4 separate regions of the Homo sapiens genome follow, and regions 2, 3 and 4 are each linked to region 1. Evidence: promoter capture Hi-C in 16 types of primary human blood cells and fetal thymus (Javierre and others, 2016). All regions are on one chromosome and are shown on one strand. Each heading gives the region's core, a stretch centred on a gene start or on the middle of the fragment in contact. The rest is flanking DNA. Distances are from core to core; before and after follow the strand shown. Region 1 holds the start of OR5A2 (olfactory receptor family 5 subfamily A member 2). Region 2 overlaps DTX4 (deltex E3 ubiquitin ligase 4). Region 3 has its middle 14 kb from the start of MPEG1. Region 4 has its middle 51 kb from the start of MPEG1.

Region 1 (6,764 bases), core at 2,511-5,010:
GAGTGGCACAGCCAACAAAGGAAATGGTTTTCTGCTCTGTGATGATGTCAGACAGCATCTTAGGGGCGGTGGAGGACACATAGCAGATGTCCAGGAAGGACAGGTTACTGAGGAAGAAGTACATGGGCATGTGCAGGTGAGAGTCCATCTTAATGAGGGCAATGAGGCTTAAGTTCCAGGCCAACGTCAGGAGGTAGAGCCCCAGAAATAACATGAAAAGGAAAATCTTCATTTGAGGATGGTCTGAAAGTCCCAGGAGAATGAATTTTGTCACAATTGTGTTGTTCCTTCCTACAGCCATAGGCCTGCTTCCTGCATAAAGTCTTTACTTTCTTCTTTAAGAATCCTGTGGTCAGCTAGATTTTGTTTGTTATTGTAAGAGTGGGTATTTCCTAGAAGATCATACAAACAGTCAGCAACAAGTTAAACTACACCCAGTTAAAGCCCAGCCACCTGCTAGGCAAAGACTTTTCAGAGGAAGTCAGCCTAGGATAATCCATATGCTCTATGCTTGTTGACCAAAAGAGAATCCATCTAATAATAAAGTAGAAACTGATTGGGAGTCAGAAGCCTGAGTTTTGTCTTCAGCTCCATTCATAACTTGCTGAGGACTTTGGAAAAGTCATTTCTCCAGATTCTCATTTTCCCAAATGGGAAAGGAGAGGGTTGAATCAGATGAGTTTGAAGTGTCCCTTTGGATTTGGGTTCCCTATGGCTTTTTTAGACTTTCTGACTTGAAAATAAAGTGTAAATAAATAAAGTATAATAAAGTTAGGCATTTTTAAGCATTATAGATCTTTAGTATGAGAACTCAAAAGAAGGGAACTGAATTTAGTGGGCTACAATTTTTGACATATTCCATTTTGGTGGAGGAAATCCAGGCAATGGTCTAACAATCTATTCTTCTAGGTAGTAAAACTAAGTGGGAAAAAAATTTGTGTGTGTGTGTGTGTATACATATTTGTGTGTATATGTATATTTGTATATATATATATGTTATATGTGTGTGTGCAGGGATAATTGTATATATGTGTATGTTTGTGCATATATATGCACACACACACTTAGCATGCTTAAGACCAGAACATTTATTCTAATTATATAATGCTCTTAAGAAAAGTCATTGCACAAAATTCATAGAATGACAAAAATTTGGACTAGCACGGTCAGCACAATTATAGGAAAGAAGGGATATGAACAGGTTTCCATAAAGGGGAAAGGGGAGCCGTACCTAAGCTGACTGAGATGGGCTGAGCCATTGTGGTCAAGAACAAACAGCAATCAATATTTCCTGGGCAAGAAAAGCAGCAGGGAGAAGAGGGTTCATTCAATATTTAAAGACAGTGATAAGCAAGGGACAACTTTGATGTCATCAGGCCAGAACAGACGATGACTATGAAGACAAGAGGTAAGCCCATACATATCTGGCAGTTAAGAAAGACAGACTGGCACTGATGTAAGATCAAAATGAGGAAACAGGCCAGGAACAGTGGCTCACTCCCAGCACTTTGGGAGGTGGAGGCAGCCCAATTGCTTGAGCTCAAGAATTTGAGAACAGCCTGGAAAATATGGCAAAACCCTGTCTCTACTAAAAATACAAAAATTAGCTGGGCATGGTGGCATGTGCCTGTAGTTCCAGTTACTGGGGAGGCTGAGGCAGGAGAATCGCTTGAACCCATGAGGCGGAGGTTGCAGTGAGCTGAGATCGCATGCCACTGCACTCCAACCTGGTGACCGAGCGAGACTCCGTCTCAAAAAATAATAACAATAATAATAATACAAAACTTAGCAGGGTGTGGTGGCACATGCCTGTAGTTCCAGCTACTTGGAAGGCTGAGGTGAGGGGGATCACTTGAGCCCAGGAGGTCTAGGCTGCAGTGAGCCATGACCATGACTGTGCCACTGCACTCAAGCCTGGATGACAGAGTGAGACCCTGTCTCAAAAAAAAAAGGAAATTTTTTTTAAAAATTAGGAAATACAAATGCGTATAAAGAGGCAGAAATGCCCTGAGAAAGACTCAGTGGTGAAATTAAGGTTGCTGTATTTTATTATTTGTATGGAATTTGTTTGCCCATGCATGTTTGCACCCAATGGTAACTGTGGTTCTGTGTCACTTATCATATTAAAAACTGCTCCTAGCTTTGTGTTTTTTACAAATTTCTAATCTCCCCTCAAATCACTGGTCAAGCAGTCAAAACCAAGACGAGCCTAGATTGATCTTCACTAAAACATCAATCTATTTAATCCTATCAAAAAGGAAGTAAGAGGAATTTGGTATCTCTTATCTTGGTGAAATCTTCCCTACCAGAATGTAAGTTACTCAAAGACAGGCAGGGAGTTTTGCCCATTCTGTTTCCTGATCTATCCTTGTAACCACCCAATGGGTTCACCTTGCCCACTGCCTAGACAGAGCTCATTTATCAAGACAGGGGAATTGCAATGGAGAAAGAGTAATTCAGGCAGAGCTGGTTGTGCAGGAGGACTGGAGTTTTATTATTACTCAAATTAGTCTCCCTGAGCATCAGGGATCAGAGTTTTTAAAGATAATTTGGCGAGTAGGGGCTTGGGAAGTGGGGAATGCTGATTGGTTAGGCTGGAGATGGAATCAAATGGGTCGAAGTGAGTTTTTCTTGCTGTCTTCTGTTCCTGGGTGGGATGGCAGAACTGGTTGAGCCAGTTAACGGGTCTGGGTGGTGTCAGCTGATCCATCTAGTGCAGGGTCTGCAAAATATCTCAAGCACTGATCTTAGGTTTTACAGTAGTGATGTTATCCCCGGGGCCAATTTGGGAAGGTTTATACTCTTGGAGTCAGAGGCTGCATGACCCCTAAACAGTAATTTCTAATCTTGCAGCTAATTTGTTAGTCCTGCAAAGACAGACTGGTCCCTAGGCAAAAGGGGGGTCTCTTCAGGAAAGAGCTGCTATTAATTTTGTTTCAGAGTCAAACCATGAACTGAATTCCTTCCCAAAGTTACTTCAGCTTATGCCCAAGAATGGACAAAGACAGCTTAAAGATTAGAAGCAAGATGGAGTCAGGTAGATATGATTTCTTTGACTGTCATAATTTCCTCAGTTATAATTTTGCAAAGACAGTTTTATCATAAGTACAAAGAACAGGGCCTGGGACATAGGTGCCCACTAAATATTTTGCTGAATAAATAGATTTTTTTCCACCACTTATCCTCAGAGTTTACCAGAAGGGTTTGGCCTATGACTTACTATATTTGGTGTGTTACTATTATAAGAACAAAACACATAATATATAATTAATCACAAACAATAATCATATAACGATCATAATATAATAATATAATCAAACACTTATTTAGTACTTATTGTGTGCGAGGTACTGTTTGAAAGACTTGATTTTTATAAACCCATTTAATTCTCCTAATAGACTCAAGAAGTGGCAGCGTTTCTCGCCCCATTTTACAAATAAAAGGTAGAATAGGCTGTAAATGCATAGTTGTGATTTGCTGCTGAATGGATGAGGTAGGAGGGAATGAGCTGGACTTACTGGATTGCATTGGGCAGAAGGGTCCTGCAATCTTGTGCTACAAGAGAAGAAATATTGATTGCTTTGTTGCCATAACATCTTTTGCAAACCAGATCATCTGCATTTCCCACTGCTCCATGGCTGGTTTCTCGTTCCATCAATTTCTTATGCTTTGGCCTCATGTAAATAGTAAACCATGCTTCTGGAATCTCCGCTCCTTTGTTAACAAGTCTTCCAAATAAATGGGCTGTGGGAGTTCATTATTTTAATGGGCAGAGGTAGCCACATTCTTTCCCCAAGAGGCTGCCCTCTGCCACTCACTCCAGGGTCCAACATAAAAAGCCCAGCAATCATTAGAGCTAAACATTTCTGAGCACTAATTGTTCCCTGGAGTGGTGGCGAAAAGAGCCAACCGCTCATCACGGGAGCCTCTTTCCATCCCCCTACCTATTCTTCTCTGAGCTTTCCCTGATTTGAGTCCAGGAAGACTCCCTGCTGGGTTAGTAGATGCCTTTTGCTTAAAAGAAATTTCATCAGAAGTAAATCACACATAAACACACCAAGCCTTGTGCTGAAATATACTGGTTAGAAACACATGTTTCCAACTCTGAGAATTGGGTTTAAATTCTGGCTCTGCCCTTTTATCAATATAAACATGTTCAATGTTGTTTAATGTCTTAAACTTATCAACTCCCTCATTTGTAAAACTGGTGTAACAAGAATACCTACCTCAACAGAGTTGTGATAATTAAATAAGCTGTGAATAAGAAAGGCTTAGCACAGTGCCTAACAAACAGAAATCACTCAATGAATGTAAACTAATGATGTCATTAACTCTGTTTCTTGGGTCATGGCCAAAAATATGTCTTTCCTTTCTATCTTTTTATTGTGACTTATTTGCATCACGATGAAAAGATTTCTTTTCTCTTTATTTTTTTTAATGAGGCTGGATGGGATGAAGGGCTTGATGGGGCTCTTCTTTTCTCTTTTTAATATTTTGGGTGCTACTACCAGCAATGCCACTACCTGGATGAGTCACTGTGGGCAAGTCAATTAACCCCTCCAGCCTGAGTGAATTGGGCTCACTCTCCAAGAATTCCTCCAGCCCTGAAAGTCTGATGTTTCAAAACATTGATTTCCTGTTTTTTTAAATGTTTTCTTCAGAAATAAAGTTTATAAAAAATGAATTCATCTATTTCATGGAGACTAAGTCAGCAATCCTCAGTCTCAAAAGAAAAAAAATTAAATGAGAGAAATGTCTTCTATATAAAGGGGTATAATTACTGAGACTCTTGACTTACAAGGTAACAGGCTTAATTTAGGGAAGAAATTTAGCAACTAAGACTGTTGACAGAAACGGAGGTAAATGTCTTCAAGAATCAACTGTGAACATGAAAAGGCAAGGAAGTCCATCCTCAAAAGAAACATTCTTATCTAAGTTTGAAGATAAACTGTCCTAGGAAATTCTGATGCTGAAAGAGTAAACCCCAACTAACTATGAAAGAGTTTGATACTGAGTTAAGATCTGGGAAATTTAAAAGGTAGATCTCACAGTTATGAAGGATACATTTTTCTAGGATTAGAAAAGGCTGATAAGGGCCGGGCGCGGTGGCTCATGCCTGTAATCCCAGCACTTTGGGAGGCCGAGGCGGGCAGATCACGAGGTCAGGAAATTGAGACTATCCTAGTTAACACGGTGAAACCCCGTCTCTACTAAAAATACAAACAAAAAAAAAATTAGCCAGGCGTGGTGGCGGGCACCTGTAGTCCCAGCTACTCAGGAGGCTGAGGCAGGAGAATGGCATGAACCCGGGAGGCAGAGCTTGCAGTGAGCCGAGATCGCGCCACTGCACTCCAGCCTGGACGACAGAGAGAGACTCCGTCTCAAAAAAAAAAAGAAAAAGAAAAAGAAAAGGCTGATAAGATAGGGTAGTGATAGATTTCATCTGTCATGGCAACTCTGATTATAGTGATAATGACTATCTACAAAGTAAGATTGAGAATCTTAAGAATAAAGAGCAATAATTTCTTTTGCACCAGTTTGGATGGAGCTGGAGGCCATTATTCTACATGAAGTAACTCAGGAATGGAAAACCAAATACTGTATGTTCTCACTTATAAGTAGGAGCAAAGCTGTGAGAACACAGAGACATACAGAGTGATATGGACTTTGGGGCCTCAGGGGGAAGGGTGGAAGTGGGATGAGGAATAAAAGACTACATATTGGGTATAGTGTGCACTGTTTGAGTGACAGGTACGCTAAAATCTCAGAATTCATCACTAATAGAATTCATCCATGTAATCAAAAACCACTTGTACCCCTAAAGCTATTGAAATAAAAAAAGAACAAATTATAAATTAACAATGTCTGCATTGGACAGAAAAATGCAGAATGAGGACTCAGAATGTATTTATTAACCTAGTCTATAAGAAATCTGAGAATGAGGAAGAAAGTCATCCTATTAAATCCATCTGGATAAAACCATAAACTCTTCATGCCCTTACTTTAAAAAATCAAATTTGATCAAAATAGCAGAAGTTTCAGTGAACATCAGAAAGTAGCAAAGGAAATATGTTACGGGACAATATGAATATATTTAATATTACTCGTTTACACTTAAAAATAATTAAGATGATGTGATGGTGAATTTTAGGTGTCAACCGGACTGGATTAAGAGATATCCAGATAGCTGGTAAAGCACTATTTCTGGGTATGTCTGTAAGACAGAGGATGTTTTGAACCAGTGGACTGAGTAAGGAAGATCCACCCTCACTCAATGTTGATGGGCACCCTCCAATCAGTTGAGGGCCTGGAAAGAACAAAAAAGCAGTGGAAAAGTAAATTCCCCCTCTCTCCTCTGAAGTTGAGATATCTTTCTCTCTTCCTTTGACATCACATCTCCAGGGTCTCCTTTGGAGTCTGGGATTTGCATTAGTAGCCCCTTAATTTATCAGGTGCTTGGCCTCATGTTGAGAGTTACACCGTTGGCTTTCTTGGTTTGGAGGCCTTTGGACTTAGACTGAACCATGCTCAGGAAGTCAGGATTCTGTGATTGTTGAGCTTGCAGATGTCACATTATGGGACTTCTCAGCCTCCATAATCTCATGAGCCAGTTCTCCTGATAAACCCACTCTCACCTACCCATCTGTTAATATCTGTCCATCTATTCATCTATCTGTCTATCTATTCATACATCCTCCTGGTTCTGTCTCTCTAGAGAACCCCAACTAATAAAGATGGTAAACTTAATGTCATATGCTTTTTAC
Region 2 (6,764 bases), core at 1,648-4,147, 240 kb before region 1:
GACCCAGATCCATATGGTGGCTGCAACCTTTGCCTGCCAGCCCCTGGTTTCTTAGCATCTCACAGCCACCCAATCTTCCCTTTCTGTCTCCAGAGAGGCCTGGCTCTGCCTGTGGCCCCTGATCCCAGCTGATCCGGATGGTTTTCAATTGCATTGGGTGCCTAAGTCTGAAAGTCCAGGCTGCTCTAAGAAGGTGGTTTTGGTACTCAGCTGGGTCCCTGCACACAGAGGTTTGGCACTGGGAGGAGGAATGAAGGAGGGTACACCACAGAGTGGGAAGAGTGCCGAGTTGGAAATCCAGAGGCCCAGCCCCTACTCCTACCTCTGTCACTGGGGTGAGCCACAGAATCTTTGCAAGATCCAGTGGCCTTACCTACTGCATGGAGTTATCGTGAAAACCTCCACTAAGGGAGTTGGCCTCTTGGCAGTGCATTCTCTTACTCTGTGATCTAAGTGTTAAGCACAGACATCCTGCTCAGAATTGATTTCCCAAGGAGAAACAGAGCTCATGTGTTATGCAATAGGGGTTGGAACCCAGGTTTTGGCCTCCTGATCCACTGTTCTTTTGGCTAAAGCCCAGCTCCTCATTGTACACAAAGGCAGTTTATAACAGGCAAAATGCTGGTGAGATGCATGAGATTTTCATGACTTCCCCTGAGATGGCAGAAGTATTTGGGAGCAGAGAATGGATGGCTAAACCTTGCTGCTGCTTAATTTCTCCCCGATTTCACACAGCACCATCCTGGGGGCCTCTAACAGAGTTCCAGGGTGATTGCTAGCATGGAGGAGGGAGGCTCCTGTGCTGGGTAAGAACCCGTCCTCCAGAAACTAGGACTGTCTGGGCTTGAACCCAAGTGCCTTGCTGTGTCAGTTGGGGCAAGATTTGCATCCTCTGTCTTCAGTTTCCTCATCTGTAAGATGGGATAGTAATAGTAACTTCCTTTTACAGTTGTCTTAAGTTCAAATGACATACTAAGTGTATAGACTTAGCACAGTGCTTGACACATAAGAGTTCAGTCAGTATAGGCTGCTGTCATTGTGATTGCTGTTATTATTGTTAACAGGTGTCCATGTAGGGGAAGTCAAAGCTGAGTAGGGTCTGACATCCCACCTTGTCTCTGGTGCCCTTGACAAATGCCAAGTGACTTCATTTCCATCACTGAGGGAGAGGCACCCAGGTGGCTTTGAATCTCGATGAGGGAGTGGAGTCAGCAGCTTTATCTATCTTCTTTATTTCCTCTGCCCGCTCATAGAATTGGGGCTAGAGAATGGGTGGAGGTCTGAGCAGTACAGTTTCAAAAGGGCTATAGAAACAAGTTGTTTTCTTTTTTTTCTCTCTACTCTGTTTTCCTGATGAGGGAGGCCCCTGCCTACTCCTCTCGATCTTCCAGCCCTTTGCTTTTCACCTCTTACCACCTCCCTCACCCCCAATCCCATCTTCTCCTCCAGCCTTTCTTGGCCATTTAATTAGCGTGTTTATTCCCTTTGTCTGGCATTGCCATCGACCTTCTGTCATTGCAGGGCCCCTTTCCCCCTCCTCTCTCTGCCCATGACCTCTTCCAGCAACTTTCCCACGGAAAAAGGAAGACCAGGGAGGGCGGGAGGAGTGGGATGAAGAGAAAGGTTTGGGGGCAGGAACAAAAGATCCTGTGAATTATTCAGAGACAGAAGCAGGGGTTTTCTAAAGGGAAGCAAGAAGGGGGCTGTGCAGTGGAGGCAAGCGTCACCCCTCTAGCCCCCTCCTCTAGAGCTGAGGATTCTCTGTCTCCAGCTAGGCCTCAGTTGCCGTAGAGACAAGATCCTTGTCCTGCTGGAGGATTCCTGGACTGGTGCATAACTCCGAGAAAAACACTGCTTCTCATCATGGTGACTGCAGAGATATACTCCCTCCCTCAAAACTCCTTTCTCTGCCACCTTGCCAGCTCTCTTCTCTTGTCTTAGTTTTATGTTTTAGCGACAGAAACAAAAGACCCTCCATATCAGGGAACAGGCCAACTGAATGGGGGCAGGGGGTGTCTTATGATTGGCCAAGCAGTGGTTAGGACAGACAGTTTTGGCTGATGGAGTTGCCTGAAGGATGTGAGATGCATGCCTGCCATTGGGTTGCAGTTTTCTAGGAGAGCTCAGGCTTTTGAAGCTGAGGCCCCAAAAGGGTGTGACCAGCTGGGACTTCATGGGCTGTTCTCCAAGGTTTAACCAGTAATAGTGGGGGAGGTGAGATCAACCGTCTCAAGTACTGCCCAGCACTCAACTTTATGCTGGATACCCATGACCTCGAGAATCAGAAAATTGGAATATTAGAGCAGAAAACGTCTTTATTCAGCCCAATGCCCCTTTTATACTTGGGAGGTAAAAGCATAAACAGTCACCCAAACTTGCACAGGGCTCAGCTGTTTACAGTTAGTTGACCTAGTTCCTAAATCCTCACAGGGACCCCATGGGGCAGACATTTAGGATGCCCTGTTCACGGCTGTGGTAACTTAGATATGGTCAACAGAACGCAGAGAGGCTGTGCGGCTCTCCCAAAGGCAAAGCAGGTCAGTGCTGAGCGGGGCTAAAACAAAGACTCCCTGACTCCAGTGCAGAGCTCCTTCCATTACACGGTTCTGGATTTCACAAGCAAATATACCCCTTCTCCCCAGACCCCTCCTTCCCAGAGCCCAGTGACAAGCCTACCCGCCATGTCATTCCTCTCCTCAAGTGGCAGGGACATGTATCTCTCCCACCTGTTGAACCCATAGTCTTCTTGTGTGTCCCAGGTCCACATGCGGGCCCTTCCCTCCCTCTCTCCACATCTTGCCCCTGAGTTCTTGAGCTGCCTGAAATGTGTGGTGTTCTGGGGATTGGATTATTTCCTGGTTGGCCAGATTGGGTGTGGAAACCTGCCAGTCCAGTTTATGGGAACAAAGGTGGCTTTTGTCACCCAGATCACAGCTACTTATCAGCTGGAGTGGGGGCTCTGAAGATGGCGAGGGAGAAGGTAGGTGCAGGTCTGGGTTCTGAGTGCTGCCCCCTGCTGGGGAGCTGGGAGCAGGACACAGGAAGCCGGGTCTTTTCCCCAAACCTCTCCAGAAAGAGCTGGGCGAGGAGAATCGGCCATAAGTGGAGGACTCAGGGCTTGGGTGGCCATTTTTTTCTCAGATATTGGTGGGAAGTTGTCAGCCAGTTTCCGTAGCGTCTTCTAACCCAAGACCCTCACAGTTTTACAGATGGGGAAATTGAGGCTCAGAAAAGTTAACTACCTTAGCGAGAAACTCCTGGCAGGGATGGGACTTGCACCTGATTTTCCTGACTGCCCATCCACCATACCATGCCTGGCCCTGGGGAGCAGGTCACAGAGTCCAGAAACAAGTCCATTCTTCTTTTCTTGGCCCAGTGGCCCTTGTTTTGTATTCAGCTTTCTCCTCCATCCTCCCATCCTGGTTTGATTTATCCTGGGGACAGTTTCAGAAGAAAAGCGGCTTTGGGTGGCCTGGTGAGACACAAACATTCCCATTCCCACATCTGTTCTTTCACATCCATCTCCCAGCATTGGTGCACATGTCATCATCCCTGGGAAGGGACAGAGCCCCAGGCAGGCTCAAAGTAGGTTAGAGCTGGGGAAGAACCTTCCTTACAGGCATGAGGGGCAGAGACAGACCCCACTGCTTGGCATGGAGGTCCCGTTGCAGCTTTCCCCATTCCTAGTGGTGGGTTTATTCATTACGCTCTCTGAGTTTCTGGTCTATGTTTGCAGTGTGGGATGTTATAAGGATTACGTAAACACAAGAGCCTGGCATAGTAAATGGGCTCTGGTGCCAGATTTTCTGGCTTAGCTGTGTGATCTTACCAAGTTTCCTTAACCTCTCTGTGCCTCAATGTAGTTGTCTCTAAAATGGTGTTAATGACTGCACCTCTTGCATAGGATGTTGGAAGGATCAGACAGGTTTATATGCTGTGAGCAGTTGGAGCCACTGTTGGGGGGAGGTGAGCTCTGTGCATGTTGGTAACTGTAACATGTGAGTGAAGAAGGGCCATGAGCCATGTGTTCACTGCTGACCCCCAGCATCGGGAATAGCAAACAACACAAAGTAGGGCTCAATAAACACTTTTTGGATGGATAAATCAATACATAAATATTCTTTTTTTCCTCCTCTTGCTTTCCCAGCACCATCCTGCCCCCACAGCAGAGCTGTTGGCTTTGCAGGCTGTCTGCCTCCTGGAGTCATCTGTGACCGGGTCCATTAGCCTCTCCAAGCCCAGCTGCAGGAGTGTGGGTGACAGAGAGGATGGCGCAAGACCCAGACCCATGTGTCCCATATTTTCCAAGTCAGCGCTGTGGGAGGGCCGCGCCTTTCCCAGGCAGCTGTGCCATCTCCTCTCCAGCCTGGCTGGAGTTGCTGGGGAGAAGGACAGAAAGGGGAGGAGGCTTTGCCTAATATTTATATATGTCTCAGGGAAAAGGAGAAGTGACAGCTGTTCTAGCAGTGGTTCCAAATGTTAGGCTGGGGATTGCTACATCTGCAGCTTCTCAGGAGCTTTGGGAAATGCAGCTTCTCGTGCTCCACAGGTGGATATTCTGGTCTGGATCTGGGACCTTGTCCTTCTAAAAACATCTTAGGTGACTCTTTTGTACACCCTGGTTTGAACTTGCTTCTTTGTTTTTTCATCCTTCAACAAATATCAATTGAATGCCTACTAGTGCCTGGCTCTGAACAAAACAGACAAAGATATTTTGCCCTTTGTAGAGCCTAGATTCTAGAAGGGGGCATAATAAGCAATAATTTCTTTTAAAGGATCCTAAGTAGAGCAGGAGTCCTGGCGTGGGATGGAGGGGTGGGTAGCAATATTCAATACTATGGTCTCAGGAACCTCACCTGATAGGTAGGATTTAAGCCAGGACTGAAGGAGTTGTAGGAGGAAACTAAGCAGTTGTCTGGTGGAAGGGCATTTTGGGTACAGGGAACAGCATATGCAAAGGCTCTGAGGCAGGAGTGCACCTGGCTCCTTGAGAGCTGAGTGATATGAGAGGAAGCAAGATGAATAAGAGAAGCTGGGTGGCAGTGTTGGCAGATCGTGCTGGGCTCTGTAGGCCTTGCTAGGACTTTAACTTTGACTCTGAGTGAACTGAGGAACATAGTTCTGAGGTTCTGAGTGGTGGCATGACATGGCCTGACTTAGGTTTTGAAGATGTCACTTCCTGCTGTCTGCTGTGTTAAGCACTTAACTGCATTTTATTAGAATTAAATACTGGTCCATTTTGTTCCACGTGTCAAAATGACATTGTATCTGCTCTTTCCTTTCACAGGGTCCCCACAGTCCCAGTGAAGAACCTAAATGGGTCCAGTCCTGTCAACCCTGCCTTGGCAGGTAAGAGAAACCCCAGGATGCTCTGGGTTAAGGTAGAGAAATCAGAGTGATGAAATAGGTCATGAGCATTTGTGGAAAAAAAGGAGAGAATCTAGATATTAATGAAAGCAAATGGTGATTTTAGGAATTGCATGGGAAGGGTATGAAGAGTTTGGAAGAGAACTGATTACTAAAAGGAAAGCATGCAATTGAAGATAAGTGAGTGAATGAATAAGTTTCTGGGGAAAGTACAGGGTAGAGAATCCAGGAATTATGAGAACTTTCTGCTGGAAAGGAGGAGAGTAGGTTAATGGGGAAAGAGGAATTTGGGGAATGTTGAGAGCTAAGTCTCCAGTCTTTCCTCACCCATGCCCTGCCCCTTCCAGGAATCACTGGGATCCTCATGAGTGCAGCGGGGCTGCCTGTGTGTCTCACCAGGCCACCAAAGCTGGTCCTACACCCACCCCCCGTCAGCAAGAGTGAAATAAAATCCATCCCAGGGGTTTCCAACACAAGCCGCAAGACCACCAAAAAACAAGCCAAGAAAGGTACCAGCCTCTTGTCTCGTGGGGTACTGAGAGTCAAAGACTTGGCTGTCAGCCCTGAGTCTGCCTCAACCTCCAAGGGTCATAGCCACGGCTTCACCCTCTGTGCCTCAATTTCTGCATCTGTAAGTGGGCCTAACCAGTAAATCTTGACGATTATACCACAGCTGATGTGTATGGATCAGATGGAAACACCTTGAGAAATAAAAATATACAATGCAAAAGTATAGAAACATAAAAATATAAGGCGTGGTACAAAGAAAATATGTTAGAAGAGAAAGATGACTTTGGCATTGGAACCAAAACAGACTGGATTCAAATCGTACCTTTGTTTCTTGCAAGTTGTGTGACCACATGGAGCCCCTATTTTCTCATCTTTATAATGAAGTAAAAATAGTCACAACTGGTATAACTGGTATCCAGCAGGTATATCCTGGAATGCATCCATGACAGTTAGGAAGTAGTCCCTGTCCTGTGTCCCCCTAGAACCTACAGAAATCTCTGCTCTGAAATCCTCCTTTAGGAACCCCCTCCTACCTGCAGGCAATCCGGCAAATAAGGGGTCAATATCTGTACCTTCCTAGCACTGCAGGACCCCAGCTTAGCTCTGTGGCTTGTCTTTCTGGTCACTGGCATTAGTTGTTAAATTTGACCATCTCCCTAAGCCCCAATCTTGCAGGCTTGTGAAGTTTAAATTGGATCATGTGTGTGTTGCACTTAGCCCAGGGCCTGGCAAGAAATAGGCTCTTAATTACTAGAGCTTAATTCTTACAAGAGAAGCAGGGCAACTGGAGGAAAGGGCCTGCATCGAAGCTTTTGGCTGTTGCATGATCCACTTCCTCAAACCCTTGTCCTACTTTTCCAGTCCGTCAAGATTTCCCTGCTTAAATG
Region 3 (6,764 bases), core at 1,703-4,202, 200 kb before region 1:
TATACTGAATAAACTTATACTGAATATGCTGAGTATATGAGGCCTTATGCTGAACCAGTGTTTATGGTAATTTCTTGGTTTGGGAACAATGTGAACAAAAACGTCACACCTATGTGGTCATAAGCCTTCTTGACTCCCAAGACAGTTCCATCACCCCCTTGAACATTGTACACAGGACCAGCAGCCTGGATCCCCACCCACAGCCCTTAAAGCCCCAAGACTCTGCCATTAAGTCTACGTAAGGCCCAACAAGCTCCTTAGCTGCAGGGCTTCAACTCCCACTTACTGCTCTGATTTTGAGTTCTCTCTTTTTGGCCTTCAGGTATTTCCCTTTCTTGGTTTTGAGCTTGAATCTTTGTGTTTGAAGAAATGTGTCTATACCTGAGTATATGCAGGGCAGGGTTTCCATGCATCAGCTCACCCAGCCAAGTTCTCTTTTGTTATAATTATTTTGTAATTGTTAACTTTTTCTTAGATGTAACAGGTTGCCATGCATGTATTGTGGTTTCAGGGCTGTGGGAAACAAACTTTCCTGCTGTCACACCCCTGCCCTGAATAAAATAATACTTTCACAGAAGTCTAAAACCCTTTTTTTCTGAAAGTAACAACTTTCTTTCCATAGGGAGAGCTCAGGCTGCAAATGTAATTAATCTGCCTTCCCTCTCCCTGAACCGCTAGAATAAAGATGAAGAACTGCTATTTCACCAAGTGATGACAACACAACTTTTCCTGAGAGTCGGGAGAGGGCAAAAGAGCAGCTAGTGATTGCATCAGTGAAGTGGGGAGAGAAAAAGACAGAGAGAATTGAGGTCTGAGGGTGGAGAAAGGTCTGGAGACTAACTTCACTGGCAGTGGGATGTTAACAAGAGCCAGATCTCTGCAATGTTCTTCTCCTTTACTTTCATGGTGGGTGAGATAATATGAAGGAATTCTTCATAGAGAGGAAAGATTATGGTCAGGACATGAGGATTCAGGAGCAGTCGGTGTGAATCCTAGCTCTGCCACCATCTTGCAAATTGCTTCCTTTCTCTGGGCTTTCATTTTCTCACTTACAAAATTAGAGGATTATATTAAATTTGTGGATTATAAGCATTATTCAGCTGTAGAGCCTTTCTTTTCCCATGTAAGCTTACATGGAAACCAAAAATATAAAACATATGAAAGAAGAGCTCCCTCGGTTGAGCAGGAAGCAGGGCGCCAAAGCCCAGAAGTTCACTTCCTCCTCACCTCTCAGAGCAGGCCTGGGATCCCTGGAACACAATTTGAAAACTGCCAGTCCGTATATTCTCTTATGGTTTCTTCCATTTGAGGCATGATAATTATGATGAGAAGAAGTTTTCCAAGCCACAGGATTCATGGGATAGCTGAAGTAGCATGATTTCCTTGAAAACAGGAAATCAGAGTCGCCAAACAGTGGAGCAAGGGTTTTCAGACCGTACTGCATTCTTCCTTCTAGAACCTTTCACCTCCTCTTGGGTAAGTTGTCAACAAGCAACACCCAGCTGTTGTGTGATAAGTGGAAAGATTGCTGGGCCAGAAAAGAGTGCTTTCATTAACCAGCTGTGAGACATTAGCAAATTTTTTCCCCACTGGGAGCTCCAGTTATTTGCTTGTAAACAGAGGAGAGTGGGTAGAGCAGTCACTAAGAGATCATGGATAGCTCTAAAAATGTTGTGAGGTACAGTCAAATTAATAATGTACTCCTCCCCAAATTTGTTGAGCAAATACTGAGTCAGGCACCAGTTGCTTTGTCATGAAGATTATAGAGTCATTCAAGGACAGACATTGAACACGATGCACTATGTGAAAGGGAAGTTCAAGATGCTGAGAGAACGTAGCAGGGAAGTGAATGTGGCCCTGGGGATCAGCATGGCCCTCCAAGACAGACGGAGAGGGAGATGGAGATTCAGAGACAAAGAGCCACACGTGGAGACAGAGACAGAGAAACAGAGAGAGAGAGAGACAGACAGAGATATGGAGAGAAACAGAAACAGACACAAAGAGAGAGAGACAGAGAAAGAAGAGACAAAAACAGAGTCAGAGACAAAGATAGACATAGAAGAACAGAGAGGAATGACAGAGACAGAGATAGAAATAGACAGATATATAGAGATAGAGACAGAGATATATACAGAAACAGAAAGACAAAGAGATAGACATAGAGACAGAGAACAGAAACAGAGAGAGAGAAAAGAAACAGAGAGATAGACCACGGATAGAGATACAGAGACAGGGAGACAGAGATAGAGAGACAGAGTGAGTCATAGAGACAGATAGAAAGGCAGAGACAGAGACAGAAACAGATTGTTTTCATCCATTTTAAATTGCTATAAAGGAACACTTGAGGCTGGGTAATTTGTAAAGAAAATAGGTTTAATTGGCTCACAGTTCTGCAGGCTTTATATAAAGCACGGCACCAGCATCTGCTCCTGGAGAGGACTCAGGAAGCTTTGAATCATGGCAGAATGCAAAGGGGGAGCAGGTGCATCACACATCGCATGGCGAGAGTGGGAGCAAGAGAGACAGAGAAGGTGGATGTCCCAAACTCTTTCAAACAACCAGCTCTCAGGTGAACTAACTGGGCAAGAACTCACTTATCACCAAGGGGATGGTGCTCTTCCATTCATGAGGGATTCGCCCCCATGATCCAGTCACCTCCCACCAGGCCCTACCTCCAACATTGGGAATCCCATTTCGAAGGGAGATTTGGAAAAGACACATATCCAAACCATATCACAGATAGAGAGACAGAGACTGAGACATACTGAAAGAGAATGGAGATAATGTTGGGAAGTCTAGGGTGACTACAGATTACAGAGGTGGCTGTGGTTTGAGCAGAGGCTGGAGAGACAGGTATAGGAGTGGATTTTATCATGCATTGTATATGATAAGAATTGGGGACTTCATCAGTTAATAAAAGGTTTTATTCAGGAGAGTAAAATGATACAATTTCTCTTTTATAAGATCCCTCAGGATGTTCCATGGGGGTGGGTTGGAGTCATTTTGTGTATCATTGCAGTAAGTTCCTATGGCTGTCTCAACAAATTATCACAAATTTATTTTCCACCTATCAGGGATTGCGGGAGCAGTTAATAAGGAGAGGGATGGATGTTTTAAAGTCTACCACTGGATTAAGCCAGGTAAGAAAAGTCTGACACACAACAGTGTGCTTGAGGTCAGAAGTCTAAAATTAAGGTGTCTTCAGAGCTGCATTCCCTCTGGAGGCTTCAGAGGAAAATCTGTTTTCTTGCCTCTTTCAGCTTTTGTATTCTTAGCTCACGGCCCCTTCTCCGTATCATTCCAAACTTCTGCTTCTGTCGTCACGCCCCCATGACCAACTCCTTTATAGAACATAAGGTAACACATTCACAAGTTCTGAGGGTTAGAATGTAGACATCTTTGGGAGAGAAGGGCTTATTTTTCAGCTGACCACAATCATTATTGAAAGGCGATGGTCAAAGCTTCAAACACGTATGCCCTTTAGTGCCCTCAGCAGGGTGGATGGTAGGATTTCCTGTGATTCTTTACAAATAACAGTGATAATACTTGGCAGTGAAAATAAATATGAAAAGCTGCCTGGAATGTCCTCTAAGACCTGCCAACTCATTCCACATTGTTTATTGAGCCCATACTGTATTCTTGACTATCACTGTATGTAGTTTTCCATTTCAAATAATAATCACCCTCACCTGGTATATTCTCCTCCTCAGCAAACTGTCAGTGAGAACAATAGTATGATATGATATTTATATCTCAGCACATGGAAAAGTAGTAAAACAACATGTGTGTTTTACTATTGTTTTATTGTTTTATTCCTGACTCTACTCCACATCTCTATAGGCAGGAGAATGTGTTGGTTTCATTGAAGGTAAAAGTATTTGTCAAAGTGTTTGTCAAAATCTCTTAAACTGCCATTGAGCAATTGATAAAGGGAAGAGGGTCTTCATTTGCTCCCTTACAATTTGATTTTATGCTTTGATTTAGGGATGGATTAAAGGACTTAATATTTTTGAGCAGATATTAGAGACCATCTTCATTAGGAGTTATCCCCATAGGTTTTCAGATTTTTAGCAGTCTATCTTTCCCTGCAGTTTTAGCAGTCTTTGTCACAAAAAGGGAGTTGTGGTTCTGTTAAAATGATCATAAATAAAAGTACTAAAGTCATAATCCTGATAGAAAGGGAGCAGTTCCACATTACATGGATGAGTTACCAAAAATTAGGTTATGATGCTGTTCTGTGGTTTCTTTTAAAAAATGATTTTCCTTCTTATTTTAATTGGATCCAAGAAACCACAAAATGTAGAGAGATTCAAAACACACTTGAGGGTTGACTTTACATGTGTTAGAAGTTTCACTGATTTCATAGTTCACAAAATTTATTTTACTTACATTATTTAGTTTGACCCTCACTCAAACTTGTACAGGTAATTTATATGATGGAAGAACAGCTATTAATATTTCCATTATATACATGAAGACAGTGGGATGTCTACTTTATCTAAAAAGACACACAATTTGAGTAAGAAACCAAGCACAATTCTTCGAATTCCTATCCTAATGGACTTTCTAAAGTGGGCATTTATGATTTCTTTTCTTCTGGTGGCAGTGGATTGACATTTCTGATATTTGTTACCAAAAGAACCATGACACATTCTCTTTCTAATGCATCATCTTTCTGTGTAAAGCAAAATCTTGGACTTTATTATATTCTACTTTGCTCCAAAATATTTAAGCAAGCATCCTGCAAAGATATATAAAATATACAAAATAAAAAATTTAGGCCAGGCTCAGTGGCTCAGGCCTGTAATCCCAGCACTTTGGGAGGCCGAGGCGGGCGGATCACGAGGTCAGAAGATCCAGAACATCCTGGCTAACACGGTGAAACCCCGTCTCTACTAAAAATACAAAAAAATTAGCCAGGTATGGTGGCAGGCACCTGTAGTCTCAGCTACTCGGGAGGCTGAGGCAGGAGAATGGCATGAACCTGGGAGGCGGAGCTTGCAGTGAGCCGAAATGGCGTCACTGCACTCCAGCCTGGGCGACAGAGCGAGACTCCATCTCAAAACAAAAAAAAAAAATTAAAGAATGATAAAAGCAAAAACAGAGATGCAGAGAAGAGCCAGGAATAAGAATAAAAGGCCGGACGCGGTGGCTCACTCCTGTAATCCCAGCACTTTGGGAGGCCGAGGCGGATGGATCATGAGGTCAGGGGTTTGAGACCAGCCTGGCCAACGTAGTGAAACCCCATCTCTACTAAAAAATACAAAAAATTAGCCGGGTGTGGTGGCAGGCGACTGTAATTCCAGCTACTTAGGAGGCTGAGGCAGGAGAATAGGTTGAACCTGGGAGGCGGAGTTTGCAGTGAGCCGAGATCGCGCCACCGCACTTCAGCCCAGGCAACTGTGCGAGACTCCGTCTCAAAAAAAAAAAAAAAAAGTGCTCCCAGAGTGACTAAACTTCTTGCTACAGATGTCCCACAAATTTCACTCAAAACTTGTTAGTGGCCAACGTGGAAAGAGTTTATGTTTCCATGTTCAATGATACAGTACAGATTGTTAATAGGATGAATACAGGAAAATTGTAGTGAAGAAGACAGTTGTCAGAGGGTCTATTTCTTCTAGAGTCTTTCAGTATAAATCATTCTTTGTGGATTCTGATGCAATGTTGTGTGGCAGTCTTTTCTTACGTGGCTTAATCCAGGGGTAGACTTTAAAACATCCATCCCTCTCTTTATTAACTGCTCCCCCAACCCCTGATACTTGGTACATGGACACTCAAGACTGTTTTCCTTTGCTAGAGCCTATAGCACAGCTGGTCAGTCCTTTAGCTGAGTGTAGACAGGGGCTGTAAGCTGGATAGAGCCTCCTTGCTGTCATTAACTTTGGAAAGCATTACTTACTCATTATTAATTCAATTCTGTTTATGTTTTAACATTTTGGTTTCTCCCTTGTTTTACGGTCATTTATGAAAAAAAATTTACAAAATTTCTCCATTAAGAAATTCATGGCGGGGGCGCAGTGGCTCACGCCTGTAATCCCAGCACTTTGGGAGGCCGAGGCGGGCGGATCACGAGGTCAGGAGATCGAGACCATCCTGGCTAACATGGTGAAACCCCGTCTCTACTAAAAACACACAAAAAAAATTAGCTGAGCGTGGTGGCGGGCGCCTGTAGTCCCAACTGCTTGGGAGGCTAAGGCAGGAGAATGGTGTGAACCCAGGAGGTGGAGCTTGCAGTGAGCTGAGATAGCGCCATTGCGCTCCAGCCTAGGCGACAGAGCGAGACTCCGCCTCAAAAAAAAAAAAAGAAAGAAATTCATTACTTTTTGAATAATGCTATGTTATATACAGCTCATCACTCTTGGTAAATAACTTAGGTGGCGATCTTATTAAAACTGATTCTATTTAGCAGAAGCAAGCCAGTTCTCCTTTCTCTTTCTGAACTTACATCTTGCCTGACTAGAGAAAATATTTAGGCAGTTTTTGAAAGAATTTGCTTTAATATTTTCTTCTTTGTCTCTGAGTGGTACCAAGCATGCAAGTGAAAATGTGTATTTTCAATGAATGACCTTGGTGTCATGTAAATATGCACTTGAGATGTTCTTAATTTATTAGTGTATGCCAGAGTATATTTTACTTCACATCCTTTCCAGCCTTATATATCTTATCTCACATAAAAATGATGAAAATTTCTATCTCATAGTGTGGTTGTGAGAACTGAAAGAGAAATAGTGTATGTAAGGACCCTTTCTGTCATCTGTAGTATT
Region 4 (6,764 bases), core at 1,509-4,008, 160 kb before region 1:
CCCCACCGTGCCGAGTCGTAGGCTCCCAGGAATGGGCTTGTGCTGGGACAGCCGTTAGCAGTGTCTTGGTGCGGGCTCCCTCTCACACCTCATTTCACATTCCCAACAGCTGGTGGAGAACACAAGTAGAGGTTGTCCTTGTTTCTCAGAGGAGGGGCCAGCCATGGGGTGCTTGGTGGGGCTGTGTAGTGATGGGGAGCACAGGCTGGGAGCCAGGCCAGGCCCCATTCACATGAGGCCCAGGGCAGAGTCCAAGCTGCAAGGGAGACTTGGGCTCACTATACCGGACTATCCTCATTTTGCAGGTGGGGAAACTGAGGCTTAGGAGAGGGGAACATGGCTTGTCCAAGGCCACAGGGTGACTCTGACACAGTGAGCCTGTCCTGGCTCTTGGTGCTTCTGTCTCCACACAGATACACAGGAGCACCATTTTACAAATAAGGGAATTAAGGTTCCAGTCCTGGGAGGCTGGACGCCTGGGTTCAAGTCCCACTTGGGTACTGGTGTGCAGCATGACCTCACGTAGGCCTCCTTTCCCAGCCTTGATTCCTGCTGGGCTGAGCCCTTCTCCCTGCCTTCCCAGGCCCAGCCTCTGCTCACCTGGCTGGCTGTGGCCAGTGGGAGTGAACCACTTACAGAAGATAGCATCTCACCAGCCATGTTGCCCTGGGCAACTAATACAACTTATTGTAGCTCCATTGTACCTGTGGGGCAGGTGCAATGAGGGACAACAAGTGAAGTCAATGACAGCTGCTGCTGTCATGGTCCACCCAGCCAGAGTGTCTATTGGCAGGGCCTGGGCAGGGCTGTGGGCCCAGAAGGGAGTGAGCCAACACAGACCAGCTTCTTCCCTCATCAGCTGTGTGACTTTGGACAGGTCACTTAACTTCCTGGGACCTCCATCTTCTCCCCTGTAAAAAGCAGTGATGCCTCCTATTTAGGGTATTAGGAGGGGTGCCCTGGGTCCAATAGTCAGGTGACTTGCCCAAGGCCACCGCTGGTCAGGGCAGAGGAGGGCTGCACACCTCCCATACCTCCCCCATTTTGCTAAAGTCCAGGGGTTTCCGAGAGAATTTTTCCCTGAGAGACAAGGGCACATCTGGATTAGGACGGACAGGAGCAGTGGCCCCGCAGGTATTTGGAGATGAGGTGTGAGGCCGGCTGCCAGCACCACCATGGTGCCGTAGGCTCTGCCGGAAGAGCACTCCTACTCCAGCTGGTAATGTCCTCTTGTCAGACAGATGTGGTACTGACCAAGCTTGGCCTTGCTGCCCTGTGGTCCCCAGCCTGGAAGGGAGACCAGCCAACTTTGTCTGAAAGGGTACGGTGTATGAAGAGCAATGGGTAGGGGAGCGGGGATCCAAGGTAGAGGGTGGCTGAGCACACAGGGACAGCTGCAGAACAGCTTGCCGCTCCAGGATAGTGCTCGGGGAGAAACAGGTCTGCCTCTGGCCCCCAGCCCCCGCCTGCAGCACCAGCAGATGTGATGTGTTCTCCCCAGGGCCACGCTGGCTGGGCCTTGCCGCAGGCCCAGTAATCTCTGATCATTACGGTAGAGGTTGTAGAGACAATGAGTACAGGGGCCGCTCCTGTACAACCTGCACCCCCTCCCCAGTGACAGCGCTCCGGACACACATGGAGCCAGCTGCTCAGTGACACAGGCTCAGGGAAGCCAAAGGCCCCCACCTCCCAGGGTGCAGCTGCTGCTGGAGCTGGGCCAGGAGTGCTACCAGGAACCCTCCTTCCAAGCCCGAGCAGGTGTGGTCTTCTTGACAAAGTGGTCCTGGGGTCAGCATTTGATGAACAGTGGAAACTCTCTCTTAGCTGCCTCCCTTTCCCAGCATTTGGCCAGAGCATCTCAGCCTCTGCATCTCCTAAGCTGGACACACTCCCAGGAATCCACTGCAGGACTTCATTCATTCATTCACTCATTCATTCATTCCACACCCTCTGAGCACATACTGTGCACCAGCCCTGGAGCCAGATGAAGTCCTTACACTGCTCACAGGCTCTTGTGGGAGGAGGGCAGGTAGACAAGTGACCACACACCCAGACAGGGCCTCAAGAGAGCAGAGCAGGAGACACCTGGGAGAAGCCTGGTGGTCAGGCAGGGAGAGCTTCCTGGAGGAGGTGACGCCTGGGATGTAGAACCAGCCAGGCCGAGCAGGAAGAGGGTGTTCCTGGCACAGGGCACAGGACATAAGGTCTGGTGCCCACAGCACCACACATACAGAGACCAGTGTGACAGGGGCAGGCTCAGGAGGGGGTCCACCTCTTGTTCCGGAATCAGTTTTGTTCAGCAGAACATGGGACAGCATACAGCCCACAGATACCTCAAGATCAGTGTCCGTGAGGGAATGTAGTGAAGGCAGGTGGCTCCCAGCCCTGCCAGGGGGCTGCTGTGGTGGAGACCTGGTGGCTTCACACTGGACCTGCCAGCCCTGGCCCATGATGGCCCCCATCACTGGATGCCATGTGGCACCAGGAAAGGGAGGGCTGGAGCTTCAGACGCACTGGCATGAGTCTGCTCGCCCCTCCCTGCTGTCTCTTAGTGTTGAGGGAAACAAAGATCACACCCTGGGAGGCAGGAGGCCGGGTTCAAGTTCCTACTCAGGTACTGCCATGTGGCATGACCTCACCTGGGCCTCCTCATCCCACTGGGGTCCCCACCCTTCCAAGTCCCAGCCCCTGCTCACCTGGCTGGCTATGGCCAGTGGGGCCGAGCCACCCACAGAGGGCAGCATAGGAGAAGAAGTAGGTGGCAAAGGAGTGGCTGTCCCAGAAAAGCAGGGCTGAGCTGCTCTTGTAGAGGCTGTGCAGCCCCTCCTCATGGGCCACCATGGCCAGGCAGTGCAGCAGCCCATGGTACTTGGACACTGAACATACAGGAGACACAGGACACACGAGGGGCACAGACAAAGGCCCCGAGGCCAAGGGCCGCAACTGCTGCATCTGTGTCTGCAGGCAGACCTTAGCCACCTCAGTGGGCGAGGCCAGGAACACCTGCAGAGGAGGAGAAGGCAGGGATAAGATGGCACCTACAGCTCTGCCCACAGCCTGCGCCTGGCCTCCCACAGGCCTCGTGTTACCCATGGTGACCTTGGGGAGCCTGAGCCCTGAGATGCTGCAGGTTTGCCATTTGCTTCCTTTCCCTCTCCCTACCCATGTGTCTTGAATGCCATGCCACCTGGCATGGAGGGATCCGTTGCCCTTCGTGGATATCCACGGCACCCCATGCTGGTCAGGCAGCCGCGGGTGGCCAGAGGCTCTGAGTCAGGCTACCCAGGTCTCCACTAATCCACTTCTAACTACATGACCCGGATGGATCCCTTCATCTGTGTGGGCCTCAGTTTCCTCATCTGTAAAATGGAAATTCTATGACCTAACACGACACGGCCATTGGGAGGACAGCGGAGTCAGCAGATACAAAGCTCTGCAGCCCTGCCTGGCAGGCAGTAGACTCTGTGAATACAACCAGCAGGACTCAGCTCTGCTGCCAATGTGCTGGGGGCTTGTGTTCAGCTTATTGCAGAGTGCCCTAGTGAACACCATTTGGGGTCTTTAATGTTTAACTGGGGCATATTTCTAGAGGGAAATTTCCGGGTGAAACATACCTGAGCTATTTTGTATTGTAATAGATTTTGCCATTTTGGTGGGATTTGGAGGGGCCAAAGAGGGACAGTGAGACTTCCAAAGAATGGATCCTGACTCAGGAGCCCAGAGTGGACTTTGGGGTACTGGCCCAGTTCCAGAGAAAATCAGCAGCCCTGGCATTTCCAGAAAATGGGGCTTCTTGGCAAGTCTGAGCAAAGTCAGAAGTCCCCACATTCTCATCTGGCTCACTCAGTGCCCAGGAGGAAGCCGCTGGCCCACCTGAGCCTGTTTCTTCATCTTTAAAATGGGGCATGGGTCAGGCATGCTAGCTCATGCCTATAATGCCAGCACTTTGGGAGGCTGAGGCAGGAGAATCACTTGAGCCCAGGAGTTTGAGACCAGCCAGGGCAACATAGCAAAACCCTTGTCTCTATGAAAAATACAAAAACTAGCCAGGCATGGTAGCACATGCCTGTAGTGCCAGCTATTCAGGAAGCTGAGGTGGAAGGAACGCTTCAGCCTAGGAGGTCGAGGATGCAGTGTGCCATGATCACGCCACTGTACTCCAGTCTGAGAGACAGACAATATTTTGTCTCCAAAAATAAATAAATAAATAAAATGAGACAAGACAGCCCTGTACCCAGGACACGGGAACCTCTATGCTTTAAGCTTCGCCTGCTTGCATGTGTGCAATGTCCGGCTGGTTGATGCTGACCACACAGCCCCAGGCAGTGGGTGGGTACAGTCTCAGCCACTTTGAGAGGCGGTAGATGTGTCTCTGGGGTGAGATTGGTGTGTGGAGCGGGATGAGCCCCCAGTCAGTCCTCCCAGACATCCTGGCCTCCCTCTGAAATCCCAAGAGGTTAGGGCTCTGGGTCTGGAGTCTCTGAGCCTGTGTAGCCCCTGGGATAGACCTCCAAGCTACAAAGCCTATCACAGGGCATTCTGTGCTGCCTCTCCTCCCTGAAAACAGGGCACAAAGGCAGGGCTGCTCCCCAGCTCCAGCTCCCGCTCTACTTTTCCCACCGAGCTCATGGCATGCATCAAACCCCACCTCCCAGCCCACTGGCAGTATTTGTGGGCAACAACCGATAAGTACACCACGACTCAGGCAGAAACAGCTGATGAGAGTTCGGGGAAAGACCTGGAATTTGAGGCCCAGCTCTGCCACAGATGGCACCGTGGCAAATAGACTCAAGCCCCGTGCCTCTGTTTCCCTATCTGCAAACAAGGACAACAGCTACCTGTGGCAGGGTTAACGAGTTATTAGTCAGAAGAGACAGAGGTGAAGTCAGAGAGCTGACCATACCAGGCCAGGCCAGACCCTGCTGCTGGTGTTCCTGAGCCCCCGCCACAACCCAGCCTTGTCCCTTCAGAGTCCCCTGGACCCCAAGCCCTTTTGGGGCTGCTTTTTGCAGCACCTCCTGCTAACCACATTCCTCCCCACTTTCTAGCCCTTCCTGCCCTGCCTGGGAGGCATCTTCAACCCTGGAGTCCACTGGCTGCAAGGGCTGAGAAGGCCACTTGTCCTGGGCCTCAGGGTTCTCACCTGGACAAAATTTGACCCCATAGGAGGTCAAAATTCCAGGCAGGAGGCGCTTGAGCCAGCTTAAAGGGGAAAAGACAGGCAGCTTTGAAGAGAAGCCTCCTCAAGGCAGGCTCACCAGGATCCCCTGCCAGCTGGGCCTGGCACACAAAGAGGCTCAGTAAACACATAGGCCAGGTGCAGTGTCTCATACCTGTAATCCTAGCACTTTGGGAAGCCAAGGTAGGTGGATTGCTTTGAGGCCAGGAGTTCAAGACCAGCCTGGGCAACTTAGCAAGATCCCTGTCTCTGCAATAATAATAATAATAAATAGCCAGGCATGGTGGTGCATGCCTGTAGTCCCAGCTACTTAGAAGGCTGAGGTAGGAGGATCCTTGAACCCAGGAAGTCAAGGCTGAAGTGAGCCATGATCATGTCACAGCACTCCAGCCTGGGTGACAGAGACCATGTCTCTGGAAAAAAAAAAAAAGGAAAAGAAAAGAGGAAAGAACACACATGGACAGAGTGAACAGGAGCTGCCTGCCACCCTCCATTTGGACAGCAAGGCCCTGTGAGGGGCCTTGGAGGTGAACCCAGCTCCCGCTGGCCCTTCATCCTCCCACCATGTGGCACAGACACTGGAGGGTCAGGCAGCAGAGGAGGTCGCTGTCCGGACTCCAGAGGGCAGAGCCCGAAGCAGGGGCAGGTGGCAGAGCCCCACACAGCTGCCCCAAGAAGACATGGCCCTGCCTAATGCTGGTGAGTGCTGGGCAGGTAACCTGTCCCAACGTGCTTTGGCTCAGTCATCCTTTCGGCCAGCCACCACCCACCCTCTCCCACCCACTCCTGACTCTGGAATGCCACCTCCAGCTCACCTTACCACTCCAACTCAGTTGCACTGACTGGAGGCCTGGGAGTGCCTGCTCACTCAGCCATCCCCCACTATGATAAAGAGAACCTGAGAGAGGGCACAGCCAGGCCAGCTCATGGCTAGGCCCCCACAGGGGCCCAGAGGCTGAATTTTGTTAGCCCTGGGCAATGTAGGAAGGACCAAAGGCCTCAACCCCCGCCGTGTCCATAAATGCCAGGTTGAGCCCCTCCTGCTGGCCCCTCTATGTCCTGACCAGGTGGCCGGCACCACCCCTTTGACCTTCTGGCTCTGGAGCACCCTGCCCCCACCCCCAGGCCCCCATCAGCTCTATTTTTATCCAAGAAGCACTCGCCCTGTGTCTATTTAGATCACTCCCCATTGAGTTTCTGGTCCTCTCATAATCTAGGCCAAGCCTCCTCAGTCTTCATGGCCCCCTCGAAGGCCAAGCGGATTCTGCATGGCACCCAGCCTGCCAGGAGCCCACAGCTCACCCGAATGGTAGCCCTGGGAAGCTAAATGCTCCCAACTAATGGCAATGCAAGAAACTCACACACCATAGTGGCAACTGTGGGATTGAATGCATTGTCCACAAGAGGTCCCAGGTCCTTCACTCTCTGAGGCCCAGAGGGCACCCCCTGGCAAGGAGGATTCACTCCCACTGAGTGGCTGAGAGGCTGGAGATTAATCCAGACGACAGCAAGTGTTTATTCATAGCAAGAAAGAGACCAGTCGGGCAGAACTTTGACTTGTCAGTGCCAAACCTCAAACCGACAG

What was found. Contacts are between HindIII fragments. The CHiCAGO score rates a contact against its expected background, and 5 or more counts as called.
Region 2: a contact is called between a fragment that was not itself captured here and the fragment with the promoter of OR5A2 in region 1, in 11 of 17 cell types (monocytes, total B cells, naive B cells and 8 more). The highest score is 22.7, in monocytes.
Region 3: a fragment that was not itself captured here is called in contact with the fragment with the promoter of OR5A2 in region 1 in 3 of 17 cell types (total B cells, naive B cells and monocytes); the score reaches 8.0 in total B cells.
Region 4: a contact is called between a fragment that was not itself captured here and the fragment with the promoter of OR5A2 in region 1, in 3 of 17 cell types (total B cells, naive B cells and monocytes). The highest score is 17.2, in total B cells.

The regions. Positions count from the first base shown.
Region 1 is chr11:59,422,653-59,429,416 of GRCh38, forward strand. OR5A2 (olfactory receptor family 5 subfamily A member 2) reads right to left here and starts at 3,761. Exons shown (of 2, transcript NM_001001954.2): 1 at 3,519-3,761; 2 at 1-392. The coding sequence starts at 301. The HindIII fragment of the contact is 12,260 bases long and covers 1-6,764 here.
Region 2 is chr11:59,183,448-59,190,211 of GRCh38, forward strand. DTX4 (deltex E3 ubiquitin ligase 4) reads left to right here. Exons shown (of 9, transcript NM_015177.2): 3 at 5,288-5,349; 4 at 5,715-5,876. LOC124902675 (a long non-coding RNA gene) reads right to left here. Exons shown (of 4, transcript XR_007062682.1): 1 at 6,200-6,764; 2 at 3,243-3,434. Among named protein-coding and RNA genes, the nearest start is that of DTX4, 15 kb to the left of the region's middle. RefSeq lists a silencer at 2,988-3,077. The HindIII fragment of the contact is 7,574 bases long and covers 1-6,684 here.
Region 3 is chr11:59,223,052-59,229,815 of GRCh38, forward strand. No RefSeq gene overlaps it. Among named protein-coding and RNA genes, the nearest start is that of MPEG1, 14 kb to the left of the region's middle. The HindIII fragment of the contact is 1,013 bases long and covers 2,447-3,459 here.
Region 4 is chr11:59,260,704-59,267,467 of GRCh38, forward strand. It overlaps the pseudogene SLC25A47P1. Among named protein-coding and RNA genes, the nearest start is that of MPEG1, 51 kb to the left of the region's middle. RefSeq lists enhancers at 2,500-3,000, 3,001-3,501. The HindIII fragment of the contact is 3,005 bases long and covers 1,257-4,261 here.